Regions from separate parts of the Homo sapiens genome. Here region 2 is linked to region 1. The links are contacts of gene promoters, found by promoter capture Hi-C in blood cells and fetal thymus (Javierre and others, 2016). All regions are on one chromosome and are shown on one strand. Each heading gives the region's core, a stretch centred on a gene start or on the middle of the fragment in contact. The rest is flanking DNA. Distances are from core to core; before and after follow the strand shown.

The links. The method cuts DNA at HindIII sites, captures the fragments that hold promoters and counts their contacts. A CHiCAGO score of 5 or more calls a contact.
Region 2: a fragment that was not itself captured here is called in contact with the fragment with the promoter of APCS in region 1 in 2 of 17 cell types (M2 macrophages and endothelial precursors); the score reaches 7.4 in M2 macrophages.

The regions. Positions count from the first base shown.
Region 1 is chr1:159,584,865-159,592,178 of GRCh38, forward strand. It overlaps APCS (amyloid P component, serum), which reads left to right and starts at 2,962. Exons shown (of 2, transcript NM_001639.4): 1 at 2,962-3,121; 2 at 3,237-4,001. The coding sequence starts at 3,058. The coding sequence ends at 3,844. The HindIII fragment of the contact is 2,624 bases long and covers 2,383-5,006 here.
Region 2 is chr1:159,227,800-159,235,113 of GRCh38, forward strand. No RefSeq gene overlaps it. Among named protein-coding and RNA genes, the nearest start is that of ACKR1, 27 kb to the left of the region's middle. The HindIII fragment of the contact is 3,915 bases long and covers 2,424-6,338 here.

The DNA.
Region 1 (7,314 bases), core at 1,712-4,211:
TCTTTTCTTCCCCCAGCCTCAACTCTTCCATAGCCATCCAGACAGGAGCCGCCACCTTGACCTGAACTTTCACTGGCAGGATGGCACCCAGGAGGATCCAGCAACAGTGAGGATTGGCTCACTGTGAGGATTGCACCCAGTTCTGAAGACCCAGGATTCATTTTCCTACATCCTGACATCAGAACTTTTCCTTTCTACAATAAAAATAATTCTCAGTTTCCTCTTTGACAACTCTTGAAGTGCAGGCTGTTCTCTTCCAAGGCCTGAGAAGCATATTCTGGGGAAGGAAACTAGACAACAGAATCAGACTCCACTTTTTCTCCCTTTTCCAATTATACTGTAGACCCTACCTTCCAACCAGGGTTTCCTTTTCACAGTGTATAACACAACATTTTCATATTCAACTGCAAACCCTTGCACTTGGCCCCAACAGCTATCTAAAGCCGTTATCTCCAAGCTCTCCCACCATGAGTCTAAGGCTGTGTCACTTATCCCCAAGACCTGTTCCCTAGGCTTATCTCCCATTAGAGAAGACTCTCTTTGATATTAATTTGCAAACCATTTTTTGTTAAGATAATGATTATTTATTTATTTATGAAGAAAACTAGAAGCATCTGGTAAGCCCTGTGTTCTCTGAGTTTTATGGCACTTATTAATTAACATCTGGAAATGTTAGGGAATTGCATAGTCCCTGGGTTCTCAAGAAATGTTACCTTCCTGCTCCTACTTCCAGTATTACCTTATCATATTATTCAATTGTATTCTACTTTTTGTTGCTAATAAACTGTTTCTTGTAAAAAAAAAAAAATCCTCACACAAAGTTGAGTCCTTTGATTCCACAATATGTAACAGTTTCTTTTCATGTGTAAGAAAAATTGTTAGATGAAACCAATGATCTAAATATAAATAAGTCCTAATACCCAGATTCAGTCTAGAAGGGATTCAAGATAAATACAATAATATCTATAATATGAGACAGATAGTGGTAACAGCCATAAAGGCTCTAAAATGATGGTAATAATAACCATCCAGATACTGTTCCATGTACTTTATGTATATCATAGTATCTCATTTATCCTTAGAGAAACACTGTGAGGTAGATAGTTTTATCTTTGTTTCACAGAGAAGGAAACTAAGGTTCAGAGGGGTTTAGTGACTTGCAGAATAGTCAGCCACTAGTAAATGGCAACATTGGAATTCTATCCCAAAGTCTTTGATCTTAACCTTATGGGAAGTACGAAAGAGGGGAAATAATGTATAGTTGGGATATTAGAAAAGTCTTCATGAAGCAGATTGTTTTTTATTTTTTATATTTTTGTATAAATTCAAGGCATACAAGTTTAGTTTTATTACATAGACAGCAATAACATAATAGTGAAGTCTGGGCTTTTACTATAACCATCACCTAAATAAGCTTGAGATTAATGTGGAAGAATGGCTGGAATTCCTAGAAACAGGAAAAGAAAATAAGAGAGAAATTCAAGACAGTATGAAGGCACTGAATAGAAGTAATGAAATCAAGAAAGCCAGGAAGGTATAAAGAACAACAATTAGAGGTGTTTGACTGGAGAATAGGATTAGATTCTGAGATAATAGCCAGGTTAGAGCCAGATTGCAAATGGCATTGGCTTCCAAGCAAATGGTCTGTATTTAATTCAGGAGTCAATAGATGCATAATCCCAACTTTATCACTAACCTATACTGTGCAACAAGCCAGATAAGGCTTCACAACCTGGGATTCCATTTAGAGAAAAAAAGTAGAGAATGGAAACTCCCCAGGGATGAGAATAGGAAGGATACTTTGAACAATGATAGAGAAAGTGTATTCTTGGTGGCAGTGATTGTGTCATTGAAAAGGCTGATTAGGTCTGTGGTGAGCTAACAGAAGAGAGAGTGAACAAGAGGCTAAACAGTAGGATGAGAAACAAGACACCATATAATTCAGGGATGAGAGAGAAAGAAATAATGTGGCTAGAAAGAAGAACTTCAGTTTGATATCTCAGAGGCAGAGAAGGTTTGAGTGGTGGTTAATAAACTGTACAGAGAGAGAATGAAGGAGACATAGAAAGAATGAAGGTGGAGATCTCTGGGGCTGTGAGAGAGCCAGTGACCACTGAATCCCCAGCACCTAGTGTAGTAACTGAGAGCTAGTGAATAAATGTATTAGTGGGGTCATCACCAAAGATGGATTAGATATACACTCAATGACCAAGGACTCAAAGAAGAGGAGAGAAAAACTTGGGGAGATGCTGACATCTCTGCAGGTAGCATGAAGTAACCAGAAAACAAGTCGTAATGAGAAATGGAAAGATCTAGGATAAGGAAGCACCATGATATGCAAACGAAAAAAAAGCACTGAGTAGAAGTAGCAGAAAAATACTAAGCTTCATGGGGACAGAAAGTTTATTCTCCAAGTCCCTCTTTCCCCTTAGCTTTGCCTGGATGTATTACTTGATGTTGAATTAGTCAAAGTTGAAGGCACTTTTTAGGGTCTTCAGCAGAAAGCAGAATCCTAGAATATCCTACAAATACAAGACAACTTGAGAACTATAAAAGAAAGAAAAGGCCTTGTTCCCATAGCCCACAAGAGGGCTGAGCTCAGCGATACACTCTGTGTGGCTCAGGAGCTTCTGGCAGAGCACAGAGCCATCAGAGAGGGGGCCCAGAGAGCAGAGAGAGGCTCTGCTGACATGGCCAGCCCAGCGCCTCATCCCATCCATAACCCTGCTGCCCTGCAATGACTCTCTTCCCAGCAATAAAATCTGGGTCACAGGAGTTGGAGCTCTAGCCATCACTTGTCTCTAATAAATAACTCCCATTGATTTTCCAGCTCAGGGCTCACCACTCCTTCACCGTAAGCGCCAGGAGGCAGACCTGGAAAATCACTCACATATTATTGGTGCTCTTCCTCCCCCATCCTCACCCAAGGTGCATATAAACCCTGAATAACCTGAAGTCTAAGGGCATGAATATCAGACGCTAGGGGGACAGCCACTGTGTTGTCTGCTACCCTCATCCTGGTCACTGCTTCTGCTATAACAGCCCTAGGCCAGGAATATGAACAAGCCGCTGCTTTGGATCTCTGTCCTCACCAGCCTCCTGGAAGCCTTTGCTCACACAGGTAAGGAGGTGAAGGAATGGTCAAGAATCATAAAGTGAGAAAATAGGTTGAAGCTGAGATATCTTTTCCCTGCATTTATACTGAAGGTCATTATCTTTCTTTCTTTATCCCGCAGACCTCAGTGGGAAGGTGTTTGTATTTCCTAGAGAATCTGTTACTGATCATGTAAACTTGATCACACCGCTGGAGAAGCCTCTACAGAACTTTACCTTGTGTTTTCGAGCCTATAGTGATCTCTCTCGTGCCTACAGCCTCTTCTCCTACAATACCCAAGGCAGGGATAATGAGCTACTAGTTTATAAAGAAAGAGTTGGAGAGTATAGTCTATACATTGGAAGACACAAAGTTACATCCAAAGTTATCGAAAAGTTCCCGGCTCCAGTGCACATCTGTGTGAGCTGGGAGTCCTCATCAGGTATTGCTGAATTTTGGATCAATGGGACACCTTTGGTGAAAAAGGGTCTGCGACAGGGTTACTTTGTAGAAGCTCAGCCCAAGATTGTCCTGGGGCAGGAACAGGATTCCTATGGGGGCAAGTTTGATAGGAGCCAGTCCTTTGTGGGAGAGATTGGGGATTTGTACATGTGGGACTCTGTGCTGCCCCCAGAAAATATCCTGTCTGCCTATCAGGGTACCCCTCTCCCTGCCAATATCCTGGACTGGCAGGCTCTGAACTATGAAATCAGAGGATATGTCATCATCAAACCCTTGGTGTGGGTCTGAGGTCTTGACTCAACGAGAGCACTTGAAAATGAAATGACTGTCTAAGAGATCTGGTCAAAGCAACTGGATACTAGATCTTACATCTGCAGCTCTTTCTTCTTTGAATTTCCTATCTGTATGTCTGCCTAATTAAAAAAATATATATTGTATTATGCTACCTGCATTTGTTTAGTGCTTGTCATAGTCCCATATCTTTATCTTATGTCTACTACTTATCTATCTACTAATTGGTGTTTCATTGGTAATTGGTGTTTCATTATCCTGAAAACTCCAATTGCCAAGTACGGGGAGGAAAACCTGTAAGTAACTAGAAAGATATATCACAAAGCCAGAGCACTCAATGAGCACAACAGTGGCAATACTTAAAAGCTACTAACAATCATTTTAATGACGATTCAAAATATGTGTGGAATTGTAATCACAATTCTCCTATTTGTTTTTCCAGCTACAAATCGATCAAAAAGGGGTCTGAGGTTGCATCAGGTAGACAACTATAATGATATAAGTAAGCAATAGTTGAGAACCTGACAGCAAGTAATAAGACAGGAAGAATAAAACTAGAAGAAGTCAGAATGAAAACCAAAAAAGTATGAGACTGGGATCATTTTGTATGAAGACAAACATAACTTTATGTCTCAAAAACCTCAGTAGGACTGTACAATGCTTGATTTTCATAATGTTCTCTTGATGTCATCAAAAAATATTATACTCTGAATATTGCTCACATGAATATGCTGTCTAAAATTCTTCCATGGATTCACACTTCTTACAGGACATGATTTAAACCTCTAAATATGACATTGCCCTCTATAACCTGGTCCCAGTTACTCTCTCTGAAATGTACACAGAGAGTATACACAGAATACTCTCTGAAATGGACTTTCCATGTACATTTCAGATACAACTCTTAGCAGAGCAAGCCACATCCTAACTATCACACTGAAAAATAATTGTCAGATGCTATTACTAGTAGTTATTTTTATGGTTATGAAAAGCATGGAACACAGTGCCTGGCACATCGTCAACAGATATAAGTTGCATTCCCAGAGAAGCAAGGATCCCAGAGGGAGTTTGAGCTACATATATGGGAAATAAGACAGGCTTTTCTCACTGATAATAAGTAGAGCATGTAGTCAGTGGAATCAGAAAGATAGCATCCAGAAGCTTCAGGATGGTAACCAATGTCATGATTTCAAACTCATGAGGCCATTTGGCCAGAATGAACAGAGGCAGTCACCAGATATGAAGAAGTAGGATAGAATCTGGAAACTCCATAATGGGACAATGGGGTGGAAGCAGAGGAGAGCAGACAGAACCTGGGAAGATTTGCTGAAGTACTTAAATGGAGCAGCAGGGGCTTCATAAGAACATTTCAACCTCATTTCTGGTGAGGTGGTATGATGGTTTGGATATGGTTTGTTTGCCGCCACCACACGTCATCTTGAAATTTTATTCCCAATATGGTGTTGTTGGAAGGTGAGTCCTAGTGAAAGGCATTTGGGCTATGGGGGTGGGTCCCTCATGAATGTTTTGGTGCTGTTCTTACGGTAATGAGTGAGTTCTCACTCTTATGAGAGTGCATTAACTCTTGTGGGATCAGATTAGTTCTTGCCAGATGTAGCTGTTATAAAGCCAGGATGTCCCTTAGATTTTGTTCTCTTCGCACATGTTCACTTCGCCTTTGAATTTCTCCACCATGTTTTGACACAACACAAAAGCCCTCACCAGAAGCCAGAGGCATGATCTTTAACTTCTCAGCCTGCAGAGCGATGAGCCAGATAAACCTCTTTTCTTTATATATCACTGAGTCTCAGGTATTCTTTTATAGCAACACAAAATGGACTAAGACAAGTAGAACTTACTTAGAACATTGAGTTGGTTAGGTAGACAGGGATTTTAGCAATATGAGAAATTATTAATTTCTGATTGACAGCTCATGAGTTAAGGCTTGCTTTACGCTTTCTCAATATTAACGACCTTTCCATAAACTTGTACTGTGAGTACTAGAAAGGTCTATCTATTCTTGCATAACAGATATTTCTATCATGTTCACTAACACTGTGTTTTGGTTTAACAACCCCTTTGCCTAGGAACCCAAGACAATTTTAGAAATGAAACCAGTGTACTTCCAAGTGATATAATCCATTCATTCAACTATTTATTGAGCAACTTCTCAAAAATACGCCAGGCAATGCCAGGTACTGAAAATATAATATTGAATAAAACAATCATGGTGCTTGCTATTTTAGAATTTACATTCTAATAAATCTGTGTTAACTACATGTGGGTTTCTCCTAACAATAATCAGGCTGTACTGTAATCCATCTCTCACATGTTTAAGCTTTCTTCTATCTCAGGTTGATATCATAGTCCACCTCTCACTTTCCCCTAAGTTAAAGGTATTATTTATTCTTGGTGATCATTTGCAACTACTTGCATAGATCTCAGGATACAGTGTTTGTGACAGGTTTCTTGTTCTTGTGAACCCTCTGCCTCTTAAAATGGCTCTTTTGAACAGAATCCAAAATGACTGCATGTAAGCTCTTTCTTCTATGTTGTCTGTATTTCAGCCAAAAGAAGCACTTATACATCTCTTGTCCCTATAAATTCTAGAAGTCTCAGATGGTCTTAATATAGACAACTCTTTCCTATTTACACAGTGGTTGCAGCTTTCTCAAGTCCTTTGAGTCTCCCAATAGCAAGAGGGATATTTCAAGCTTCCGCAGTGATTCCACAGAAGCCCCCACATTAGGCTTGAGGTTGGGTAAAGAAGTAAAAAATAATAATCTTCTCAAGATACAAATAACATAACCTAATACTCCCTCAAAGCAGCAACAACAGCAAAACAGCAGCTCTCTGCAAAGAAGTTCTTTGGAAAAGTTCCTTCCTATCTCCACATTCTGTCTTCTTTGGGCACCTTGTTCTAGCCAAAAGGTAGAAGAGTTGTAGAGATGGTTCTTAATCATTTCCTTCATGAATTCTTTATTTGAGTGAATCTGTGTATATTATTTTTATCATTAATATCTATCATATTGATGGCTCATTCAAAACTGAAGACAGTCCATTTTAACATAATTTATAATAGAGATGGTGATATGGTTTGGCTGTGTCCTGACCCAAATCTCATCTTAAATTGTAGTTCCCATACTCCCCATGTGTCGTGGGAGGGACCCAGTGGGAGGTGATTGAATCATGGGGGCGGTTACCCTCGTGCTGTTCTCATGATAGTGAGTGAGTTCTCACAAGACCTGATGGCTTTATATGGGACTTTTCCCCCCTTGCTCCACGATCCTCCTTCCTGCCACCATGTGAAGAAGGACATGTTTGCTTCCATTTCTCCATAGTTGTAAGTTTCCTGAAGGCTCCCCAGCACTGTGGAACTGTGAGTCAATTAAATCTCTTTCTTTTATACATTACCCTGTCTTGGGCAGGTCTTTATAGCAGCATGAAAACAGACTAATAAAGATGGA
Region 2 (7,314 bases), core at 3,131-5,630, 360 kb before region 1:
TAGCCTTCTGTCTTGTCACCAATCATTCCTACTTGGTGGCCATATACTTGGAAAAAAAGCCGCATGATCTTTCTTGCCCCACTCAATGTCTAAGACACCCTGCTTCCTTTGCTTGCATCCCACAGACTATTTCCCTTATCCTATTTACTACAGCAAATCTCTCCTTAGTTGATGAGACTGTGTTTCTCGCTCTTTAAAACCCTACCTATCCTGAATGGTTTGTCATTGTCTGCCTTGAAAATCCCTCCTCTTTCTCTTCCTCTATTCTCTAAATAAGGATGGGGCTAAGTTATACCCAAAGCTCACTTTACAAAATATTTCCTCGGTACTTTGCAGAAAACACCGAAAAAAATGCCGTTTTAAAAGAGGTGTATTTTTTCTTTTAGAATGTGAGCTCCTCAAGAGCAGGGACAATGTTTTCTGTATGTTCTGTTGTGCCTAGTACACTGTAAATGCTCAGCAAATACTGATGATAGGAAAAAAAGTTATGCCATAAAATTTCTGTTGATTGATAAGTTGACCTTATCCTGTCAAAGTATATTTCTCCACAATTGAATTGCTTCTCTAAGTTAATGCTAGAGACATACACTCTTAATTTGTAATGCTTCCTGTAGAAGATATCATAAAGTAGAAACTTATTGCTCTGTTTGTATTCTATCAGTTGCATTATGCCATACAAAGTCTAGGAATGTGTCTTGTTTTTTTTTTTTACATTCACATTTAAAGGTAGCTACTTCCTCCAAATGTGTAAGAAGAAAATTTATCCACTATGAGTGGACTCTAGTTTTTCTGTTACATTTATTCAAAGTATTTGTCTTTTTTAGACCAGGAAATTTGAGCCTCTTACAAGCACTGTTTTGAATACTCTGCATTTTGGAGGCCAGGAAACCTCTATTTATTTACTGGGCTCCAGGGTTCTGTTACTTTGGTCTCTGTTAAATGAGTGAAGCCAATCTGATAAACTAATTTAAGCTGTGTTCCTAGCTGTTAATGGCTTTCTGTGCGATTCAGATAAGATGTGTGCTTTGACAGGAGCTTTCAGAAATAGATTTTAGGGTTTTGGGACAGAGCCCCTGTAGAGATAGGAACTTGGGGAGGGGCTTGTAAAATAAAACAACAATAAATTGAAAATAATAATAATAATAATAATATCGCAAGCAAAACTGCTATCTATGAAATGCTTGCTCTGTGCCAGGAATGTTGTGCTTTCTGAATGGGATTCCCCTAAATGTTCTTTGAGGGCATCAAAGATCAAACTTATTTGAATTATTTTCTGTTTTCAGAGTATCTATAAATGCAAGCTGGAGACAGGACTCGGTCACATAGGGCTTCAGGATGTATACGTGGTATTATATTTTCTCAAGGCATTTTGAATTTGGGAGAAAAGGAAACCTTATTTTTAGGTGAGCTAGGCTAAACATAGGCCTAAATCTTTCTTACAGGAGCCAAACATTAAGTTTAGAAGCAACCTTTTAATTCATTAACTAGTCAATGATTTGACTCTGTAACCAGATCTTCATTATACATTTTCAAGATACCAGTCATCGAGAAGGATATGTTCAAAAGAAGGCCAGTCCCTTCTCTGGATGAGACGCTATCCTGGCTCAGTCCTGGATATGCCTGAGAGCAGGGAGGTATTGGTTTTTGCCTATGAGTGCCTGGGCTGTGGGCCCATCTCCACACACAGAGAGAATCAAAGGCGTAGAGAAATGTGTTTAGTTCGATGACAGGGCTAAGGCCCACAGCTACAATTTAGTCAGGACATTGCCCTTTGGCTGCCGCTCAGTGCCCACAAATTCAGGATGTTGGCACAGAAACAGGTGGTGTCCATCTGGGCTGGTGAAAGCACATGATCTTCTCTTAACATGTGATGAAGCAGGCACCCAGAGCAGCTCCCAAACAGCAGGCTCTGTGGCCGCCTTCACTGCTGATTCCATTACCACTCCACCACAAGAGGTGAGGAGCAGCTGCCCCTCCGAAGGCCGTGCCCCAGGACCCACTTGCTTTCACCTTCACTTCTCAGCTCCAGCCCTCCCCCACAGCTGTTTCAGAGGACAAAGACACTTTATTGCAATATGCAAAGCTCTCAGGATGCAAACTATATCTGGATTAACAACTATAAGTACAGTTTTATTACTTCAGCTTGGCATTTGCTGACACAGAAAGCAAGTATTTATTGTCATCTCCATCCTGCTTCCCAGTTTTAACTTTTGTTCTCCTGCCATCCAACTCCAATTCCAGAGTTATTTTCTTTGCTTCCTCAGATTACTGAGGAGATAATGTCCTTTCTATTTGCCCTCAGGTCCACACCTCGTTTTAAAGCCAAAGCTATCACCCTGACTACTGGATTCCAATCTGATGAGTGCTTAGTTACTACCCCAAGATTTCCATGAAGAAGCTGATAAATGACACATGTTTGAGAAAGCTTTAGGGGTCTTGCAAGCACAAAGGAGTCAACTCCTGATTAGATGAGAAAGCTAACTATGCAAAAGGAAGGTGGCCAGTCTTTGTGATATTTCATTGGTCATATTCCCCCTGAAATGTTGTTTAAAAGCAAGGAACATTATCAAACCAGCATGTATGGAGAGGTTAGGAACAAGAATAGTGAAGGTCAGGAAACTACAACTAGATCGTTTAAAAATATTTATTGAAGGCCTGATAATAATTTTGAAGGCATTTTTGAGTGCTATGTGCCCATCATTATGCTAAACACTTTCTATGAACTACCTAACTTAATTTTCACAATGAATATTTGAGATAGGAATGACTGGTATCCACTTAAAAACAAAACTATCAAGGCTATGGGAATTATGTGGCTTGATCTATGAGAGTTTGCATATTATAGAGTGATCCAGGATTTGAACTAACGTAGTCTAACTTTAAGCCTATAGGCTTCACACCAGGTGCAGGGTCATGTGTTTTATACTTGACATTCAAAAAAATTAACAAACAAGACAAATAGTGTGCCTGCACTTATGGAATTTACAGTCTAATAGTAGTGAAAAATAAATAATTGTCGTGTTATGGTAAGGGCCATGAAAAGCTCATGGCTTATTCCTGTGATAGAACACCACTGGTCATTTTCCTTTCTCTTTTTCCTCTTACCAACCTGTACATAAATATCAAAGTAATCTTCCTAAGAAAATTGTCCTTCATATTCATAAGACTGCAATAACCTAAACCCTCCTCAACTGAAACATGTTTATAAGGAAGAACTGAAAGGATTAAGGAAGTCTCTTTTAGAAAAAAGAAGACTCAGGAACACAGTAGTTATTTTTTCATATAGTCAAGGAGCAAGTAATCAAAGGTTCAAAGAATTCTTCTGTAGCCTGCAGCACCTACTATGTGGCAGGGTGTGTGCTTGGTGCTGAAGATACTAAGAAGAATCATAAAAATGCTAAGAAGAAGTCCAAAAGTCAAACATGAGAATCACTACTTATTAAACTAATTGATTTGCAGACACTGGGGAGACATCAATGATCTCTTTGGGGGAAGTACGTGAAGAGATATGCTAAGCAAAGAGAATCATGGAACCGCTAAGAGACAGGCAACTGGGAGATAACTTGATTTAGAGTATCTTAAGCAAACAAATAATCCAACAACACTATTTTCGTTACTGGTGATTCATTGAGGAGGGAGAAAAGGTTTAGGTTTTTAAGTCAGTCAGTCCAGGCTCTGAATTCTGCCCCAGTTGCTAGCTAGCTATTGATTGTGGGCAAGAAACATAAACTTTATGAGCAAATTTTTCCTCATTTGTAAACATGAAAATAATACACATATCAAAGAAGTAAATGACAGATGTGATAAGTACTTCTGAATGTAGGAAAAAGCAGTAAGTCATTGTTAGCTTCATTCATTCATTTATTCAGTGTCACAGAGACTTGAATGGGAAAGTCATGTCAAATGCTGAAGTACATAAAAGAACAATACCAGAAGGCAGGTAGGAGGAAGGTTGTGTATTATTTGGAAGACATTCATTATAAATGACAAAATTTAACAAGAAGTAGATAAAAAAGAAAAGACGAGAATAAAAGGATGTGATTGCTCATGTAACTCAAAAATCCACAATAAGTGAGGTTGGATCCAGGGGCTCAAGTGAAATCATCAGATGCCATTCTCTCAGTCTTCTGGCTCTTGCTCTTCTGTGTTGTTTTTTTTTTTTTCCTCAGGTATGCAGTCTCTAGTTCACAGCAAAAATAGATTGTGGCCTCTCTAGGCTTACATGGTCTTTTGTTTTTGTTTTTGTTTTTTTGAGACGGAGTCTCCCTCTGTCGCCCAGGCTGGAGTGCAGTGGCGCGATCTCGGCTCACTGCAAGCTCCGCCTCCCGGGTTCAAGTCATTCTCCTGCCTCAGTCTCCGGAGTAGCTGGGACTACGGGCGCCCGCCACAACGCCCAGCTAATTTTTTGTATTTTTAGTAGAGACGGGGTTTCACCGTGTTAACCAGGATGGTCTCGATCTCCTGATCTCGTGATCCGCCCGCCTCATCCTCCCTAAGTGCTGGGATTACAGGCGTGAGCCACCGCGCCCAGCCGACATGGTCTTGTGTTTACAATTTTGAAGTAGAAAAGTCTTAGAGATCATATCAATCCCCCCCAAAACCCAGTCCTTGCTGGCGCCATAGGCCCATCTCTGACCTAATCATCATGTCTAGGGTGGGGAAAGCAACTTTGATGGACCATCCTGTACTACATGCCCACCCAGCGCAGTGGGTGGGACCTCATCTCTCCCAAGACTGTCATGAGCAGATGATCCAGGTTGGCCAATCAGAAAATTCCAACCCCTGGCACACCACCCAGAGGAAGTACAGTTACTAGAATAGCAGACTTTTTGGTTTTTTGTTTGTTTATTTTACCAGAGAAGGAGAAAAGGATGAAGAAAAAAAAAAGCCATCAATGTCCACAACTGGAAAGGATATTGAAATTCAAGATATATAATTAGACTACTGATAAATGTTATTGATAACATTTGAGACACAGGTAAAAAGGGAATAAGACTTCTCATCACCAATGTGCATATTAATAAGCTAAACTTATGGCATTTTATTACCATGAAAGTATTTAAAACAATTGCTAGTATCAGTAACACTCTTTGATTTGGGCAAGGAAATCCTGCCTTAGGCCTCACATTGGAGAGGGACCACTGTATTATAAACACAGCCAAAACTAAATTTATTAAAAAACCCAAAGTGGGGCCGGGCACTGTGGCACACGCCTGTAATCCCAACACTTTGGGAGGCTGAGGCGGGTGGGTCACCCGAGGTCAGGAGTTTGAGACCAGCCTGTTCAATATGGTGAAACTCGGTCTCTACTAAAAATACAAAAATTAGCCAGTCATGGTGGCACATGCCTGTAATTCCAACTACTTGGGATGCTGAGGCAGGAGAATCGCTTGAACCCGGGAGGTGGAGGTTGCAGTGAGCCAAGATCATGCCACTGCACTCCAGCCTGAGCAACAGAGTGAGACTCTGCTTCAAAAAGAATAAATAAATAAATAAATAAAAATATAAAAAAATTAAAATAAAAACCCAAAGGGGTTTCTGCCCCGAGGATCCATTGTCCAGTGCTGGCTTAAGGACATATAACCCTTACATCTGCCCTAACACCTTTCATTCCCCCAGAGAAATGCTTCTCCACATCTCTTGTCCTTTGTCCTCAAAATGAAAGACAATTATGAGAAGAGAGGATTTTAAATGTTCCCAACACAAAAAAAGGATAAGTGTTTTGAGGTGATATATATGCTAATTACCATGATTTGATCATTACACATGGTATAACTGTATCAAAGTATCATTCAGTACCCCATAAATATGTATAATTATTATGTGTCAATTAATAATAAAGTTAATTTAAGAAGCAATTGTATCCAAATACCATTAAGTTGGTGGATTGTGGCGCTAGGAGATGGATACACCCTGGCACTAGGAGGGGTTTGAATGGCAGAAGCTATTAGGACAGAAAAAAACAAATTAATTAACTTGTCAAATTTGTCCTCTAGGATAACATGAATATATCACATTCTTGTATAAAAGATTATCATTCCCCAGTAGTGCCAATTGTCCATTTTCTTGCTTCTCTTTGCATTCCAATTTGCAGTTTCACAGAGAATCATCAACTAGCACAGGTTACACATGGCAGATGAGAAATGTTTTGCAATGTTAAACAGTTTATATAACTCTTAACTTTAGACATTTGTGGCCAACATAATATGCGTAATATTAGAAAGGTATGGCCCTGATTCTTTACATTGGCAGGTACAAAGAAATTGAACTCTAGAATTGTGAACAAATTAATTTTGTAAAAATATTTGAGTTTTAAGTAAATATTGAGATTTAAGTAAAGCTTAAAAAATAAAACTTTAGCTTAAAATAATCTTGAATTCATGATATTTATTAAATACAATTCATATTTGCCTTTTTATTTGAACACATTTAAGTACTTAAAAAAACTTTCTTAAAAACATACATGTTATTTTGTTTATAAAATCTTTCATATTTATTTTAATTTGAATTTTAATGAGAATATACTCAAATCTTGTACACTTTTACAGCTATTTTTAAAATCCCTTAAATGAGAATGAGTACAAGATTGTGATATACACATTAAGAAATTTGAGCTCATGAAAGAAAAGAAGCTGTAAAGAAAAAAGAAAAAAAAAGATGAGCAATTTAGAATTATAAACAATGAAAGTAACCATACTTCTGAAATGCAATACCCAGATAAAATGTGTGATTATTACATTACAAATGTTTTATTACATAAATAATTATTTATGAAAACAATGCACATGGGCAAGAAAATTATTCCTACTAAATCTTCAACTTGAACAGGTGAAAGGAAATGCCTGCAACTTCATATCCCTTACTAAATAAAAACTTAATTACCAATAAAAACAATGAGAATGAAAAAGAGAATTTTCTTTTGTGTGTATGTGACCTTTATTATTATTATTATACTTTAAGTTCTAGGGTACATGTGCACAACATGCAGATTTGTTACACAGGTATACATGTGCCATGTTGGTTTGCTGCACCCATCAACTTGTCATTTACATTAGGTATTTCTCCTAATGCTATCCCTTGCCCCAAGCCCCTCAGCCCCCAAAAGGCCCTGGTGTGTGATGTTCCCCTCCCTGTGTCCATGTGTTCTCATTGTTCAACTCCCACTTATGAGTGAGAACATACGGTGTTTGGCTTTCTGTCCCTGTGATATTTTGCTGAGAATGATGGTTTCCAGCTTCATCCATGTCTCTGCAAAGGACATGAACTCATCCTTTTTTATGGCTGCATATTATTCCATGGTGTACATGTGCCACA